Regions from separate parts of the Homo sapiens genome. Here region 2 is linked to region 1. Evidence: promoter capture Hi-C in human tissues and cell types (Jung and others, 2019). All regions are on one chromosome and are shown on one strand. The core of a region is centred on a gene start or on the middle of the fragment in contact, and the rest is flanking DNA. Distances in the headings are between cores, read along the strand shown. Region 1 holds the start of NEK2 (NIMA related kinase 2). Region 2 overlaps HHAT (hedgehog acyltransferase).

The links. Contacts are between HindIII fragments. The study calls those that stand out against the background at their distance.
Region 2: a contact is called between a fragment that was not itself captured here and the fragment with the promoter of NEK2 in region 1, in 1 of the 25 tissues and cell types used here (aorta).

Annotation. Positions count from the first base shown.
Region 1 is chr1:211,673,889-211,677,388 of GRCh38, reverse strand. It overlaps NEK2 (NIMA related kinase 2), which reads left to right and starts at 1,768. Exons shown (of 8, transcript NM_002497.4): 1 at 1,768-2,005; 2 at 2,876-3,093. The coding sequence starts at 1,910. It overlaps NEK2-DT (NEK2 divergent transcript), which reads right to left and starts at 1,627. Exons shown (of 4, transcript NR_148994.1): 1 at 1,523-1,627; 2 at 235-322. RefSeq lists enhancers at 1,488-1,782, 1,805-2,064. The HindIII fragment of the contact is 6,262 bases long and covers 1-3,093 here.
Region 2 is chr1:210,384,790-210,388,289 of GRCh38, reverse strand. It overlaps HHAT (hedgehog acyltransferase), which reads right to left. Exons shown (of 12, transcript NM_018194.6): 4 at 709-822. Among named protein-coding and RNA genes, the nearest start is that of HHAT, 58 kb to the right of the region's middle. The HindIII fragment of the contact is 5,842 bases long and covers 1-3,500 here.

The DNA.
Region 1 (3,500 bases), core at 519-3,018:
ATTTGGCTCACGGTTCTGGAAGCTAGGAAGTCCAAGATCAAGGGGTAGCATCTGGCAGCAGCCTTTTCTCTGGGTCATAAAATAGCAGAAGGCATCACATGGTAAGAGAAACAGCAAGGGAAAGCCAAACTCATTTTTATAACCAACCGACTCTCAAGATAACCCACTCCTGTGATTACGTTAATCCATTCGTGAGGGGTAGCCCTCATAACCCAATCAATTTAAAGGTCTCACCTCTTAACACTTTTGCATTAAGAATAGTTTCCAACACATGAACTTTGGGGGATACATTCAAACCACAGCAAGCTCTATGGATACCAATCTGTAAGAGGCACAAAAATAAAAAAATGATGCTAATTAACACAGCCACTTGCAGTGCCTTACATAACTTTTGAAACCTAAATTGGTCCTATTCCCCTGAGGTAAGACAGTGCCCTTGAATGTTAATTTAAAAATTCTCCTGGTTGGCAATTCCAATTATCTTATGTTATATTCAGGGCATGTAATAAGTCCCTTATTTTTACATAAAGAGCTTTTAAATTCTTATTAATAGAAAATCAGGTGTCTTTTAATCCTTTGCTGAACAGATATTTAAAGAAAACTGGCCTGTTCATGCATTTCCAAATTATTAGCTTTCTGGTAATTTACATATTCCTCTAACAAGCCCTGGATGGAGGCCTCTAAGTCCTCCTTCCCTGGTAAACATGGGGCTGTTCATTTGGCTGGGTAAGCTGAGAACGTTGGTGTGTGGGTGCGTAAAAGAGAATCTGTGTTCAATGAAGTATTGTCGATAGGGTTAATTGTGTATTTGGCACACATAAACGGGACAAGACGTGTAAAGTACTTGGTAGGAGAGCGACAGTATTTCTCCTTTTTTTTTTTTTTTTGGAGACTGGGTGTCACTCTGTCGCCCAGGCTGGAGTGCAGTGGCGCACGGCTCACTGTAACCTCTGCCTCCCAGGTTCAAGCAATTCCTCATGCCTCAGCCTCCCAAGAAGCTGGGATTACAGGCCTGCAACCCCATGCTCTGTTACTTTTTTTTTTTTTTTTTTCATTTTTAGTAGAGACGGGGTTTCGCCATGTTGGCCAGGCTGGTCTTGAACTCTTGGCCTCGAGCAATCCGCCCGCCTCGGCCTCCCAAAGTGCTAGGATTATAGGCGTGAGCCACAGCGCCCGGCCTAATTTTCGTATTTTCAGTAGAGACGAGGTTTGCCCTGTTGCCCAGGCTGGTCTGAACTCCTGGGCTCAAGCGACCCACCCACCTCGGCTTCCCAAAGTGCTAGGGTTACGGGCGAGCGTGAGTCACCGCGCCCACCCGGGAGTCTGTATTTCTAATTTGTATTCAGCTCTCAGCATATCCTCAACGTGACCCCACCCAGGTTCAGGGTACTGGAACCTGAGCGAGGAATGCGTGTGCCGGGGAGAGTAGGTAGTGTGAGGGGCCAGAGTGCAAAGGTCAGAAGGCATCTGGTGGAAGCGGTGTGCAAAGAAGCCTGAGGGGAGGACCTTAGATCTCGGTTACCTTGGCGATCTCTATCAGAGGGTTAGAGTTGCCGAGAGGCGCCAGCTGCCGCTTCCTCTCTCCCGCCCTCCGTTTGGCTTAGCTCGCCGGGTTCTCCCACAGGTTAAAAGCAGACGCCGACGCGGTTGCCTAGTGACACTTTTCCCAAAATGCCTAGGGTATTGTTGTGTTCTTCTTAGCCAATGAGAGAGGCGAAGCGGCCCACCGCCTGCCAATAGACTGCGAGATCAGGGCCCGCGACGGTTAAACGGGGCCCAAGGCAGGGGTGGCGGGTCAGTGCTGCTCGGGGGCTTCTCCATCCAGGTCCCTGGAGTTCCTGGTCCCTGGAGCTCCGCACTTGGCGGCGCAACCTGCGTGAGGCAGCGCGACTCTGGCGACTGGCCGGCCATGCCTTCCCGGGCTGAGGACTATGAAGTGTTGTACACCATTGGCACAGGCTCCTACGGCCGCTGCCAGAAGATCCGGAGGAAGAGTGATGGCAAGGTGAGCGTGGGACCTACCCTGCGCCTGCCCCTGCTTAGGTTTCGTCGCCTCGGGGCGAGCGCCCTGCGCCACCGAAGGGAACCGACAGGGCTGAGGAAATGGGTGCCCGGAAGACTAAACCGTCTTTCCTGGGTCTGCATCTGACAGCCTGTCCTGGGTGGCTTAAAGGATGGGAGACCGCTTCTTTTGATATATGTATTTCCATCTTTTCCCGTTTCTCTCCCCATTTCTCTCTTTCTCCTGCTTTGGCTTGCTAAGGACCTTCCATTGGTGACAGGTAACTAATTCCTGAGCTGTTTTTAGAGCTCTAAGAGTGGCCCTCTCAGGCACAAGAAAGGGGCAGGACTACCAGAACCCGAAGCTTTGTATCTGCAGTCAGACTCCCTCAAAATATCCATTATTAGGATTATTGGATTCATATTTCCCAATGTATATAGGTAGAACTTTTACAGAAAGTAACATTGGACAGGAAACTGCCTGGCTGCTGATGGAGGGATCTTTACCAAGGTGTCTCATCCTGGGAAAACACGACTGGGGTGGAATGGGGCAGGGACTTTGACCACCTTCACCCCAATTTTGACTATAGTACCTTTTAGCCAACTTCCCACTAACCAACTGAGGGTAGGGGTTGGGGGAGTCCTCATGTGCCTCATTCCCGTTTGTCTCCCCACAACATACATTTACTGCTTAGAACTGGAGGAAGATTATGGAAGTAAACTCACAGCTCCTTAAGTTCATTGAACTAAATTAGATAATGACCTTGATTGTAGGATATAATTAAAAGGGAGGTAATTTGTTAAATCTTGGAACTTTCATTCTTTGTTTTTGAGCATAATGAGTTCATTCATACCTTGGAAATTCTTATTTCAGATATTAGTTTGGAAAGAACTTGACTATGGCTCCATGACAGAAGCTGAGAAACAGATGCTTGTTTCTGAAGTGAATTTGCTTCGTGAACTGAAACATCCAAACATCGTTCGTTACTATGATCGGATTATTGACCGGACCAATACAACACTGTACATTGTAATGGAATATTGTGAAGGAGGGGATCTGGCTAGTGTAATTACAAAGGGAACCAAGGAAAGGTAAGCATAATCTTTTAAAAATGTAAGCTGAAATTGGTCTAGTTTCATTTATTTTAAGCATCTTGTTTTAGGATCAGTAATATGGAAGAGTGTATTTGTATTTGTTTGGTAGGTCCACAGTACTTTAGAAAATTCCTGGTGAATCAACACCCATATTTTATATCAAAATAACAATTTATAGGCTGAGTGTGGTGGCTCACACCTGTAATCCCAACACTTTGGGAGGCCGATGCGGGAGGATCACTTGAGCCCAGGATTTCAAGACCAGCCTGGGCAACATAGTGGGACCCTGTTTCTACAAAAATTAGCCAGGTATAGTGACATGTGCCTGTAGTCCAAGCTACTTGGGAGGCTAAGGCAAGAGGATTGCTTGAGCCTGGGAGGTCGAGGCTGCAGTGAGCCATGAT
Region 2 (3,500 bases), core at 536-3,035, 1.3 Mb after region 1:
AAATCAGGTTTTGGTTGTGTCTTGCTTTTATTCGGTAAATTTCCAAGCACAGACTTTTTCCTCCATCAGGAATCTATAGCAAGCAAGAAGTATTTATCAGAGGCCTCTGGGCAATACCCTGGCCCCCAGGTGACAGAAAGATCCTCCTGGCAGTATATCAGGTCCCTTGGTAGCTAGACCTGTGAAGAGGGTCTCAATCCTGCCTCACATAAAAGTAGTTTTCAAATAACCACTTTGAAGAATCTCTCATCCTCTAAGCCAGCCCAAGGCAAGAGCAAAATGCTACTGGACTTCCCATCTAAAACAGTGACAGCAGCATAAACTACTTGACTTTAAAATTATTCCCACTTCTTAAGTAAATCATCAACTTTCTTCTGAATTTGCAAGTGAACTCATCCAGATTCTCAACCACAGGCAACTTTTTGATCATTTGATTAGAAGTGATCTTAAAGACCACCACCACCCTCCATGGTTAGTTTTACACTACAACCTTTATATTCAATGCCTGAAAATAAGTTGGAGAAAGCAAGTGCAGGATATGAACTATGAACTTTTATCTTAAATGTTATATTGATTGTTAACAACTTTATCATTTTTTCCAGGCTCCCAGTGCTAATATCCAAGTCTTCCGATTCCTAGCTTGGACTCTTTCTTCACAAGAAGCAAAGGAAAAACACACTTAAAAGGTAACAACACATATAATCATACCTTTCTTGCCAGCAGTGTGGCCATTTGAGACACTACCATGTGGCCAAGGAGAAGCCACACCAGCCACTGCTTCCCCCATTCCATCCAGAAGCTCCACTCAAAGTCGGTCGCATCCTAAATAGGACAAAATAGTTTATCAGAGGGATTTCAGTACACGTCTGAGTCAGAACACAAACTCCAGTTAATAAAACTGGAAAGAAGGCCAGTGTGAGTCCAAACTCTGTAAAAGAGGATTTACACACTTCTAGCCTTTCCCCACCCACCTGTACACTCCCCTCCAGCTTGCTATTAGTAATGGCAAAAACTGCAATTACTTTTGCACCAACCTAACCGGAATGATTGCCATTGCCATTCCCCAAATGCACCTCGGACTTTCTACAACTCAGTGTCTTTGTTACAGCTGATCTCCCAGGGCCCTCTGTAGTATAGATGCTATTATTATTTCCATTTTGCAAAACATGAAACAGAGACGTAAGGAACTCAATTCATTTACCCAAGTTCACAGGGATAGTACAAGTAATGAATTGAGGCTATCCCAGTTTAGACAACTAGATATTTTCACTGAGAAATGTAAACTGGACACTAATAAAATGGCTTAAAGTCAGTTATTCTGAGTCTTGTTGCCATTTACAGACAGAATAATTTGTCAGAGAAATTAACTAAGTTCATATAAATTTATAATGAAGGAATGAAAGGTACACTTCCCTTCCCCCCAAGAAGCTCTGTGTCCATGTGGCATTCTGTGTCTGCATCAGTACCAGGTTCCACATCTATGAAGCTCCCCAGGAGGAGAAGGTAGAAACCTCTGACAACAGTGGACATGTGGACGCTTAGGAACCAGCACCTCAAAGTCATGGCCTCAGGAGCCCCAGAAAGGACCACGGAGGCCAAGAGGAGCGTGGAGAGATGCACACTGTCATCGGTCACCCTGAAACAGGCAATGCAGGCTTGGCCAGTGAACAGTTCAGCACTACCAGGATGGAGGGGGATTTGAGGTCTCAGAATTTTCTAAGCAAAATGTGTGCCTGGAAAAGGACTCCTGCAGGCCGGGCGCGGTGGCTCACGCCTGTAATCCCAGCACTTTGGGAGGCCGAGGCGGGCGGATCACGAGGTCAGGAGATCGAGACCATCCCGGCTAAAACGGTGAAACCCCGTCTCTACTAAAAATACAAAAAATTAGCCGGGCGTAGTGGCGGGCGCCTGTAGTCCCAGCTACTTGGGAGGCTGAGGCAGGAGAATGGCGTGAACCCGGGAGGCGGAGCTTGCAGTGAGCCGAAATCCCGCCACTGCACTCCAGCCTGGGCGACAGAGCGAGACTCTGTCTCAAAAAAAAAAAAAAAAAAAAAAAAAAGAAAAAAAGAAAAGGACTCCTGCAATGACCACTGATATTGAACTCCTCACCAATCTCTGCAAGTGGAACTTGAAGCCTCTCTTAATTGGATTTGAAGAAAAGTGTGATTTTTTTGGTGTACCTAAGATTGTGGGGTAATGTCATACCAGTTGCACACAAATAAAACTCTTTTTTGCAGAAGGTAAGATACATATAAAATTGATCTTGATTCATAACAGACTATGAGTGCAAGGTAGCTAAGACTGGAGGCTTGTTTTGGGTCCAGAGCCCAGATCTACTCACACACTTGCTGTGATGACCTTGAACATGATTCTTAACCTTTCTGTTCTGTTTCTTCATATGACAATAGTACTTACCTTACAGGGATTTTTGAGGCTTAAATAAGAGCATATGTACATTAAAAGTTTGTAGCAGCACACAGTGCTATTAAACAGCAGTACCCGCTACTAACTGCTAGACCCATGTGCTTCCCATCCCTTGTAAACCACCAGCCAAGACCGTATCATGCTTTACTTTGTGCCACTCATTTTAAAAAAGTTTTCCCATTTCTTCAAATAAGGAAATACAATACTGCGCATTCTCAGATTACACATGCTCCCCACACCCCAGATCCTGATACATGACCTGCTCATAAAGCCCCTGTCCCTTGCTGGAAATCATGTATGTAGTTGAATTGCTTCCATTTAGAGATGACTACACCAGAGTCTGGGACATGCCCACAAACACACAGCCAGGCAGCACAGCAGAGAACTCAAAGCTTTAACCTGGCTCCTGATCCCTGATCCACAGCTTATTTCCCCATCTAGAGATTTCCAAATTAGCCAAGAGTCAATTAACTAAACAAATGTAAATAAGTTCAAAGGTCATGTGATGAGGCCATGCTAGTAAAATACCACTTTTATAACAGGGATACAGCTAAAAGACACAAAAGCCAAGACACTTTTTTAATACAAACTCAAAAAGAAAAAAAAAAAAAAAGAAAAACATATGAGCTTTTTAAATACAACATTTTTGAACACTTAGAATTACATTTAGAATTCATGACCCCAAGCTTACCTATGCCTCGAAACTTCTCCAAGTTTAATTTTTTAGGGTGGAAAAAAGGATATAATACAACAAAACATATAAGACTTTCTGTTCCACCAGAAAGTCCAGGACTCCTGAAAACTCTGCTGGTAAAATCCCATCAACAAAAATTACACATGGCCTTTCACCTCTAATTATCACAGAAAACATTCATTTAAAGGAAATAAAAATGTCTCTCTCATGTCTATTCTTCCCTATTTAAAAAAGTTACCTAAGGGAAATGACCAAACAGAAAAGCTGGGCCAATGAATAGGTCAAGATGATGTTTAATGATTTGGGTAAGAAAAATATTGACTCACTGCTTCTTGAAGCAAAAGCTTTATAGACTCTGAGCTCAGTCACACATTTCAAGGCA